Regions from separate parts of the Homo sapiens genome. Here region 1 is linked to region 2. The links are contacts of gene promoters, found by promoter capture Hi-C in blood cells and fetal thymus (Javierre and others, 2016). All regions are on one chromosome and are shown on one strand. The core of a region is centred on a gene start or on the middle of the fragment in contact, and the rest is flanking DNA. Distances in the headings are between cores, read along the strand shown. Region 1 overlaps ITGAL (integrin subunit alpha L). Region 2 holds the start of SEPHS2 (selenophosphate synthetase 2).

The links. The method cuts DNA at HindIII sites, captures the fragments that hold promoters and counts their contacts. A CHiCAGO score of 5 or more calls a contact.
Region 1: a contact is called between a fragment that was not itself captured here and the fragment with the promoter of SEPHS2 in region 2, in 11 of 17 cell types (erythroblasts, megakaryocytes, non-activated CD4 T cells and 8 more). The highest score is 11.0, in erythroblasts.

What each region holds. Positions count from the first base shown.
Region 1 is chr16:30,516,875-30,522,029 of GRCh38, forward strand. ITGAL (integrin subunit alpha L) reads left to right here. Exons shown (of 31, transcript NM_002209.3): 26 at 99-212; 27 at 775-831; 28 at 923-1,021; 29 at 1,750-1,845; 30 at 2,983-3,093; 31 at 4,618-5,155. The coding sequence ends at 4,791. Among named protein-coding and RNA genes, the nearest start is that of ZNF768, 7.1 kb to the right of the region's middle. The HindIII fragment of the contact is 740 bases long and covers 1,245-1,984 here.
Region 2 is chr16:30,444,354-30,449,706 of GRCh38, forward strand. SEPHS2 (selenophosphate synthetase 2) reads right to left here and starts at 1,521. Exons shown (of 1, transcript NM_012248.4): 1 at 1-1,521. The coding sequence starts at 1,374. The coding sequence ends at 28. RefSeq lists an enhancer at 713-1,659 and a silencer at 986-1,105. The HindIII fragment of the contact is 8,484 bases long and covers 1-5,353 here.

The DNA of each region.
Region 1 (5,155 bases), core at 365-2,864, 73 kb after region 2:
AATGAGGACTGGAAGAGGCGTGCAAGGGCACACAGGGTCTGGGGGGCAGCTGGGGTGGCTGGCATTCAGGGCTCTGCATCCCTTGTCCTCTGTGCCAGGTGAGGATCCAGCCTTCCATCCACGACCACAACATACCCACCCTGGAGGCTGTGGTTGGGGTGCCACAGCCTCCCAGCGAGGGGCCCATCACACACCAGTGGAGCGTGCAGATGGTGAGTGCTGCCTGTAGAGGGAGGGTCTACCCTCCTCAGGTCTTGGGGGTGAGTGCATTTGAGGGTACAGAGGGCAGGGCTTGGCCAGGTGCGGTGGCTCTGCCTCCCAAATCCCAGCACTTTGGGAGGCTGAAGTGGGAGAATCCATTGAGGCCAGGATTTTGAGACCAGCATGGGCAACATAGCACAACTCCAGTCTCTACAAACAAATTTTAAAATTATCCAGGCATGCATGGTGGCCCGTGCCCGTGGTCTCAGCTACTCAGGAGGCAGAGGCGGGAGGATCACTTGAACCTAGGAGTTTGAGGCTGCAGTGAGCTATGATGGCACCACTGCACTCCAGCCTCGGTGACAGAACAAGACCCTGTCTCTAACAAAGAAAAAAAAATCAAGGGGGCAAGGCTGGGTGTATGGAGAGTAAGGATGGATGAATTCAGGTCCTGCTGGACTCAGAGATGTCTGAACTCACCCAGGGCCAGGGCCAGGGCAGGGGAAAGCTGGGATGCCAGTGTCTTATCTGGGTTGGGGAGGCTCTAACTGAAGACCTGCCGCTTGTTCCTAGGAGCCTCCCGTGCCCTGCCACTATGAGGATCTGGAGAGGCTCCCGGATGCAGCTGAGGTATGGGCGTGTGAGCTGAGAGACGGTGGGGCTGGGCGGTACACGGGTCGGAATGAAGCCGCCCTGACCCCGCTTTCCTCATCCTTGTCAGCCTTGTCTCCCCGGAGCCCTGTTCCGCTGCCCTGTTGTCTTCAGGCAGGAGATCCTCGTCCAAGTGATCGGGACTCTGGAGCTGGTGGGAGAGATCGAGGTAGTCCCCGCTCCTAAGAGATGTGGAGCTGCTGTGGGGGCCCCAATGCCTGGGGCCGTTGTGGGTGGGCTCCCACCAGATAGTCTGCCTCCATTTTTGTTTTCCATCTTGATGAAAAATCCCATTTACACAGTCACAGGTGAAAGAGAACAATGATTTCTGTGATATTTGCAATGCTGTTTCCATGGGCCTATGGATAGTTCCTGTGTGTTCTTTATAGAAAAGCTTTCCTTACAACAATGGGGAGCGACATATTAGGGTGCCACAGTAGAGGCTGGGGCGGGGCTCAAGCCTATAATCCTAGCACTTCGGGAGGCTTAGGTGGGTGGATCACTTGAGGTCGGGAGTTCTAGACCAGCCTGGCCAACATGGTGAAACCCTGTCTGTACTAAAAATACAAAACTTTAGCCGGGCGTGGTGGCACATGCCTGTAATCCCAGCTACTTGAGAGGCTGAGGCATGAGAATCCCTTAAACCCGGGAGGCAGAGGTTGCAGTGAGCCAAGATGGCACCACTGCACTCCAGCCTGGGTGACAGAGCAAGACTCCATCTCAAAAAAAAAAAAAAAATAGAAAGAAAAGAATGCCACAATAGAGAGTTGTGTAGAGATGGGTGCACCCCCCTGGAACCCCTTCTCTGCCCCTCCCCACTGTGTTGTGGTGGGGGCAAAAGCCAGTGGGTTCTGTCCTCGTTCTCCCGGGTTCTGACGCCTTTCCCCGCTCCCACAGGCCTCTTCCATGTTCAGCCTCTGCAGCTCCCTCTCCATCTCCTTCAACAGCAGCAAGCATTTCCACCTCTATGGCAGCAACGCCTCCCTGGCCCAGGTATCTCCACCTCCTTGGAAGCCCCAGGAACAGGCAACAGAGGGAGCCCAGGAGCCCCAGGGCAGACCTAGATGTGGGAGAGCTCCTGGGCTCTGTGCGAGTCAGAACTTCCCACTGCCAGAGCCATCAGCCTGGGAGAAGCTTCTTCTCCCCTTGGTGGGCACACAACCCCAGAGTTGCCTGAGATGTAGTAGACTTATGTGTCGAGTAAAGTTCAATCGAGGCCGGGCGCAGTAGCTCACACCTGTAATCCTAGCACTTTGGGAGGTCAAGGTAGGCAGATCACATGAAGTGAGGAGTTCAAGACCAGCCTGGCCAACATGGTGAAACCCCATCTCTACAAAAATACAAAAATTAGCCGGGCATGATGGTGGGCGCCTGTAATCCCAGCTGTTCGGGAGGCTGAGGTGAGAGAATCACTTGAACCTGGGAGGCAGAGGTGGCAGTGAGCTGAGATCCCACCATTGCACTCCAACCTGGGCGACAGAGTGAGACTTCATCTCAAAAGGATCTGTCAGAGGCAGGCGTGGTGGTTCACGCCTGTACTCAGTGCCTCGGGAGGCTGAGATGGGAGGATCGTTTGAGCACAGGAGTTCAAGGCTGCAGTGAGCTATGATTATGCCACTACACTCCAGCCTGGGCAACACAGTGAGACCTTATCTCAAAAAAAAAAAAAATCAATCTGATGGCAGCTTAGCAAAGGAGTTACCAAGCCAAGTCAGACAGTGAAGAAAGAGCGCTCTAAGCAGAGGCAGTGGCAAGGCCAGGGGCCTCTGTGGTGAGTGTTGGCAGGGCAGGTTTGAAGAGCAGGAAGTTCAGTGTGGCTAACAGGCAGAGGGGAGGAGGGAAGCTGCATCTAACAGGTAAGCAAAAGCTGGATTCTGGACGGCTTTGAATGCTGAGCTGCGTGCGATTCCGGGGAAGCCATTGAAGGCCTAGGGCTGCCTAAGGTGTGTGTTGGCCAACTCATGGCAGCGACTGCAATAGGTGACGTGTTAAAGGGAGAGGGTCTGCAGCTGGAGACTCCAGGCGGGTGATGCAGTCCGGATAGGAGGAGATGGGGAATGGAACCAGGTTCACAGGGACTTTCAGGGGTGGAAAAGGCATTTTCCGGCACTCCCCTCCCCCTGCTCCCAGGTTGTCATGAAGGTTGACGTGGTGTATGAGAAGCAGATGCTCTACCTCTACGTGCTGAGCGGCATCGGGGGGCTGCTGCTGCTGCTGCTCATTTTCATAGTGCTGTACAAGGTGGGTGCCTCCGGGGGTCACAGGCATTGCTGAGACAGCCAGGCTGGGGAAGGGGATCTGGTGGGAGCCAGGGAGGAGAATACCAAGCCAGAGGGCATAAGAGCCAGGGGGCCTCAGAGCCAGGGGGCCTCAGCCTACTCCCTCCTTCAACAGAGAAGGCTACTGAGGTCCAAAGAACAAGCAAGGGCCAGGTGCAGTGGCTCATACCTGTAATCCCAGCACTTTGGAGGCCGAGGCAGGTGGATCACGTGAGCCTGGGAGTTCAAGACCCGCCTGGGCAACATGGAAAGCATCCGCCTCTACAAAAAATTTTAAAAATTAGGGGGACGTGATGCTACCCAACTGTAGTCCCAGCTACTCGGGAGGTTGAGGTGGGAGGATCCCTTGAGCTCAGGAGGTCAAGGCTGCAGTGAGCCATGATGATGCCACTGCGCTCCAGCCTGGGTGACAGAGCAAGACCTTGTCTCACACACACACAAACAGCAAGAGAGACTTTTCCACGGTCATTCAGCCCATCCCTGGCAGAGCCAGGACGAGGCGTCCTGGGAGAGGAAAAGGAAGTATGCCAAATGTGGAGGTCCTTTTGGCTGCTGGGCACTGTCCCAGGCACAGGGACACAGAGGCACATGCCACAAACATGCTCCCTGCCATTGTGGCGCTCACAGTCTAAGAGAGGACACAGGCAGAAGCAAGCAGAATGAGGGCTGCAAAGGGCCTGTGTGGCCTGGGGCCTAGAACCCAGGAGCCTCACTTAGGCTGTGAGGGCCTGGCAGGCCTCCCAGGAGAGGTGGCATTTGAGGTGGGATTTGAAGGCTGAGTAGACATTACAGATGAAGGCCGGGTACGGTGGCTCACACCTGTAATCCGAGCACTTTGGGAGGCAGAGGCAGGTGGATCACCTGAGGTCGCGAGTTCGAGACCAGCCTGACCAGCATGGAGAAACCCTGTCTCTACTAGAAATACAAAATTAGCTGGGCATGGTGGCGCATGCCTGTAATCCCAGCTGCTCAGGAGGCTGAGGCAGGAGAATTTCTTGAACCTGGGAGGCGGAGCTTGCGGTGAGCCAAGATGGTGCCATTGCACTCCAGCCTGGGCAACAAGAGCAAAACTCCATCTCAAAAATAAAATAAAATAAATAAAATAAAATAAAGTGTTCTCGCTGGGCTCGGGGACTCATGCCTGTAATCCCAGCACTTTGGGAGGCCAAGGAGGGCAGATCACTTGAGGTCAGGAGTTCAAGACCAGCCTGGCCAACATGGTGAAACCCTGTCTCTACTAAAAATACAAAAATTAGCCGGGCGTGGTGGCAGATGCCTGTAATCCCAGCTACTGAGGAGGCTGAGGCAAGAGAATTGCTTAAGTCTGGGAGGCAGAGGTTGCAGTGAGCCGAGATCGCACCACTGCACTCCAGCCTGGGCAACACAGTGAGACTCCATCTCAAAAAAAAAAAAAGTGTTCTCACATTTTCTTGGGGCCAAAGTGCTCAGTGAATTCTTTGCTCGTTCAAATTTTGTCTTTGTACAGGTTGGTTTCTTCAAACGGAACCTGAAGGAGAAGATGGAGGCTGGCAGAGGTGTCCCGAATGGAATCCCTGCAGAAGACTCTGAGCAGCTGGCATCTGGGCAAGAGGCTGGGGATCCCGGCTGCCTGAAGCCCCTCCATGAGAAGGACTCTGAGAGTGGTGGTGGCAAGGACTGAGTCCAGGCCTGTGAGGTGCAGAGTGCCCAGAACTGGACTCAGGATGCCCAGGGCCACTCTGCCTCTGCCTGCATTCTGCCGTGTGCCCTCGGGCGAGTCACTGCCTCTCCCTGGCCCTCAGTTTCCCTATCTCGAACATGGAACTCATTCCTGCCTGTCTCCTTTGCAGGCTCATAGGGAAGACCTGCTGAGGGACCAGCCAAGAGGGCTGCAAAAGTGAGGGCTTGTCATTACCAGACGGTTCACCAGCCTCTCTTGGTTTCCTTCCTTGGAAGAGAATGTCTGATCTAAATGTGGAGAAACTGTAGTCTCAGGACCTAGGGATGTTCTGGCCCTCACCCCTGCCCTGGGATGTCCACAGATG
Region 2 (5,353 bases), core at 271-2,770:
GGTCCAAACAACTTCTGTTCTTTCATCTCACGAGCTAGGCTCAGAGGAGGCATTTGAACTGTCAGGAGCAAGAACAGCAGCTGTGGCCCCACGAGGCAGGACTTCAATAACTCGCGGCTTGTCAATGATCCGGGCCGTTCGGTTTCCCTTTTCCACAATGCCAACGATCCACGCTTGGTGACCCTCTCCGTACTTGGAGGATTTGATTTCAGAACAAAAGCGAGCCGCCTGTTCTCTTGGCAGACAAATCAGTAATCCCCCAGAGGTTTCAGCTGAGGTTCCTTGAAGAAGCCCAAACCGTCCACTGGCCTTGCTGACGGCAGCCATCTTGGCAATTATTGGCAGATTATGAATAACAAAGGACACTTCATTTCTTTGTTGTTTTGCAAGGTTCTGGGAGTGTCCTAGAATGCCAAAGCCTGTGATATCTGTGGCCGCATGGGCATTAAATGTGTGCATTAAACCTGCAGCAGTTCTGTTGAGGGTAGCCATATTGAACATGGCTTCCTGATAGGCCAGCTCCACCTCTTCTCTGGAGACCACCATCTTTACTTTATTCCATCTTTCAGGATTATCCAGCCATTGGTGGGCATTGACAGCAACCTGGGTTCCTAACGGTTTGGTTAACACCAGCACGTCCCCAACGACGGCGCTGTCCGGCATTATGAACTCATTTGGTTGGCATACTACAGTGGCAACTCCACCGATTATAATCCAAGGGTTGACCACCGTTTGCCCACCGGTCACTGCCGTCCCTCCTTCCTCAGCCGCATCCCGAAAGCCTTTGACCATGAGTGGCGTTACCTTTTCGCGTTCCTCCTCACTCATACTCTGGCTGACGCTGAGTAACATCAACATGTTGTCACACTCAGTAATCCCCATGGCGTAGAGGTCACTCAGCACGTTGGCACAAGCTATGCGCCCCATCATGTAGGGATCTTCTACCAAGGGGTAAAAGAAGTCCGTGGTCTGCACCAGTGACAGGCCCCCGTGCCTCAGGGGGATGACGCAGGAGTCCATCCCGATGCCCAGGGCTGGAAAGGTGGGGCTGGGGCCCGCTCCTGCCGGCAGGCCGGCTTCCTGGGACGCCTCTTCCTGGCCACCCACCAGGCCCCGGCCCAGCGGGGGCCGCACGTCCGGCCGCGTCAGTCCCGCCAGGAGTTTGAGCAGCGCCTCCTGCGGGACCTTGCAGCCTCAGCCCTTCATGCCGGAGAAGCCCGTCAGCCGCCAGCTCGGGCTGAGGCCCAACGCCTGGGGCTCGAAGGGCCGGTAGTTCGAGAAGCTCCGGCCCAGAGTCAAGCCCGCCGGGCCCGAGGAGCCTTCCGCCGCTGCCATCGCCTCTCCGCAGGCGCCCGTCGCCGAGGCTTCCGCCATGGCGCCTGCCCGGCAGGGAAGCGAGAGGAGAAGAGGGCCCTTTTATTTTCCACTCAGATTAATATGAAGCAAAAGTCAAATATTACCTGCAGGGATTCTCCCTAGCGCTACTCAAGCCGTCAGACCCACGGCATGCACAATCTTCCTGATAGAGGAGCCGCCGGACTCCCTTATTTATAGCCCTGGCGATTGACAGCCGCAACATCCAATGACGACTCCGCCACCGAGAGGCGGGCTTCCTAGACTCTAAAAGGTGCAACAACCTCCGGCTTGCAAAACCGCTTGCAACGGGATTGCAGAACGTCACGTGCTTTCCTTCGCTCTCTTAGTAATTTAAATGGTTTCTTGGCAGTGGCTGACGGAACTCTGCTCCCTTCCAGTCACTTTTCCAAGTCCAGCAAATTGTAGACGAGGGAAGATTGGTCACTCGGCAAACCTCATGATCGGCAGGATTGTCCCAAAGGTCACTTGACAGCGCACATGATCGATCCAGGATGGCAAAATAGCCCAAGGGAAAAAACAGAAAGCATGAGAAATTAGAAATTAAACTACTACCATTAAGTTAGCAAACTGCAGGCAGCATCAATATAATGAAATGTTAACAGGAACTTCAAGAACTCTAGGACTCAGGAGGTCGAGGCTGCAGTGAGCTGCGTCCGCGCCACTGCACTCTAGTCTGGGCGACAGAGCAAGAACCTGTCTCTAAAACAAACAACAATAACAAACAAACAAACACCCCCCCCACACACACAGACACACACAAAAAGAGAGATTTAGGACTGGAAGTCCAGACACCTGCATGGATTCTAATGGTGTTTCCCACCAGCTTTGTGTGGAGTCACTCTCCGCGTCGGTTGACTCATCCATCTGTGGAACAGAGTGGGTTACATAGGACTGGTCTATTCTAAAATTCCTATATCTCTGTAAATAAATATATATATATATCTTATATAGCCATGAAGGGCAGTTTGCCAATATCTATTAAAAACTCCACCTCCCAGGTTCAAGTGATTCTCCTGCTTCAGCCTCCTGAATAGCTGGGATTACAGGTGTGCGCCACCACACCCGGCTTATTTTTGCGTTTTTAGTACAGACGGGATTTCACCACGTTGGCCAGGCTGGTCTCAAACTCCTGACCTCAAGTGATCTGCTGGCCTCGGCCTCCCAAAGTGCTGGGATTACAGGCATAAGCCACCACACCCAGCCAATAAAAACTTTTTTAAAAGACAAGAAAATGAATAGAAGACTCAGCATAGGGGCTATGTCTAGGGAGGGCTACATAGGGAGCTTCTGGGCTATGTTTAATTCTGTTCATTGGGCTGGTGGTGGGTACGTGGTACATGGTTGTTCTTTAAACTGTACATAGATATTTTCGGGGCCGGGCACAGTGGCTCACACCTGTAATCCCAGTACTTTGGGAGGCCGAGGCGGGTGGATCACGAGGTTGGGAGATCGAGGCCAGCTTGATCTATATGGTGAAACCCCGTTTCTACTAAAAATACAAAAATTAGCCGGGCATGGTGGTGAGCGCCTATAATCCCAGCTACTCGGGAGGCTGAGGCAGGAGAATTGCTTGAACTTGGGAGGCAGAGGTTGCAGTGAGCCAAGACTGCACCACTGCACTCCAGCCTGGGTGAAAGAGCGAGACTCTGTCTCAAAAAAAAAAAAAAAAAAAACTGCACATAGATATTTTCCCACACTATTTTTGTAGGTATGCTATATTTCAGAATTTAAAAAACATGCAAAAAGAAAGCATGATGGAGTGGGAAAATACAGTGAAAGCAAAAGACCTTGTATGATGTCTGCATTGCTGTCAGTGAGCTGGCTGACCTTGAGGAAGTGATCTAGCCTCTCTGCACCTTAGTCTTCTCTTCTGTTAAACCAGGGTCACAATCTCTGCTTAGGATCTAGTGGAAGGGCCATAGGAAACCTCAGCTGAAAAGTGTTTTGCAAAATGTTAAGCCTATTGTACAGGGAAAGGATCCTCATATCTCTAAGGGAAAGAGGAAAACATTGTATTATGTCTGTAATCACCTCACCTGAGTTAAAAAGTGACTAGGTCAGGTGGTGCTGGTTATACATTCTCTTAGTTCTTTGGACTTCTCCCTCTCTGCACTTAGTACAATTTGCAATTCTTTTTTTTGTTTGTTTGTTTTTTGAAATGGAGTCTCGCACTGTCACCCGGGCTGGAATGCAGTGGTGCGATCTCGGCTCACTGCAACCTCCACCTCCCGGGTTCAAGCAGTTCTCCTTCCTCAGCCTCCCAAGTAGCTGGGATTACAGGCACCCGCCACCACAACCAACGAATGTTTTGTATTTTTAGTGAGACAGGGTTTCACCATGTTGGCCAGAATGGTCTTGATCTCTTGACCTCATGATCCGCCCCCTTCGGCCTCCCAAAGTTCTGGGATTACAGGCATGAGCCACCGCGCCTGGCCCTGTAATTCTTTAATCATGTGATAATGCCATGCCTATCTGTCTGGCCCCCTCGTTTGTAAGCTCTGCAGAGCAGGGGCTGCTCTGTTGTTTCTGTTTGTTTGTTTTGTTTTGTTTTGAGACAGAGTTTTGCTTTTGTCACCCAGGCTGGAGTGCAGTGGCTTGACCTCAGCTCACTGCAACCTCTGCCTCCCAGGTTCAAGCGATTCTCCTGCCTCAGCCTCCCGAGTAGCTGGGATTATAGGCACCTGCCACCATGCCTGCCTAATTTTTGTATTTTTAGTAGAGATGGGGTTTCACCATGTTGGCCAGGCTGGTCTCGAACTCCTGACCTCAGGTGATCCTCCTGCCTCAGCCTCCCAAAGTGCTGGGATTACAGGCATGAGCCACTGCACCTGGCTGAGGGGCCTCCTTGATAATACTCATAACCTCTACTCCATGCCCTTCTAGGAAGCAGAGGTCTTTGGGGGAAGGTTTTCATCCATACAGTTCCCTGTTGCTTCTACTTGGAGCAATATTCACTTGGGCCAGTGCAAAGAAAGTCACGAATTTGCCTTGGCCAGTGACCAACCTGCTGTGCTCAGAATGACACATGCATGTGCCTCTGTGCAGGTGACCCATAGGGGCCTCTCAAGGGTGACCCTGAGGGCTGCAGCCTCAGCACCTGGAAGCATTCCTTTTGTTCTTTTCTTATTTCTCACTGAGAGATCCATTGAGCTATGTTTTACTATTTGTGGCCGAGCGCAGTGGCTCACGCCTGTAATACCAGTACTTTGGGAGGCCAATGTGAGCGGATCACCTGAGGTCAAGAGTTCGAGACCAGCCTAGCCAATATGGCGAAACCCTGTCTCTACTAAAAATACAAAAATTAGCCGGGCATGGTGGTGCATGCCTGTAATTTCAGCTACTCAAGAGGCTGAGGCAGGAGGATAACTTGAACCCAGGAGGCGAAGGTTGCAGTGAGCAGAGATCGCACCAATGCACTCCAGTCTGGGTGCCAGAGTGAGACTCCATCTCAAAAAAAAAAAAAGAACAAGAAGACCTCGCTTGAGCCTGGGAGTTCAAGTTCAAGGTGACAGTAAGCTATGGATTGCGCCACTGCACTCCAGGTTGGGAAAAGAATAACAGGATTGGAGTCCTAGCCCCTGGTTTGCTTTTCACATACAACAACAGCATTTGGGTCAGGTATGTGGCCCAATTGTGATAATCATTTGGGGTTATAACACTACACTTGAAGGATCAGTACATCTAAAAAATTCTTATTTTTTACTGTGGTAAAATATACATACCTTTAGTACACTATTCCCATTTCCCCCTTTTTTTTTTTGAGACAGGGTCTTGCTGTGTCACCCCAGCTGGAGTGCAGTGGTTTAATCATAGCTCACTGCAGCCTTGACCTCCTGGGCTCAAGCAATCCTCCCACCCCAGCCTCCCAAGTAGCTGGGACTACAGGTGCACACCACCACTCCTGCTAAATTTTTGTAGAGATAGGGTCTTGATATGTTTCCCAGGCTGATCTCCAACTCCTGGGCTCAAATGATCC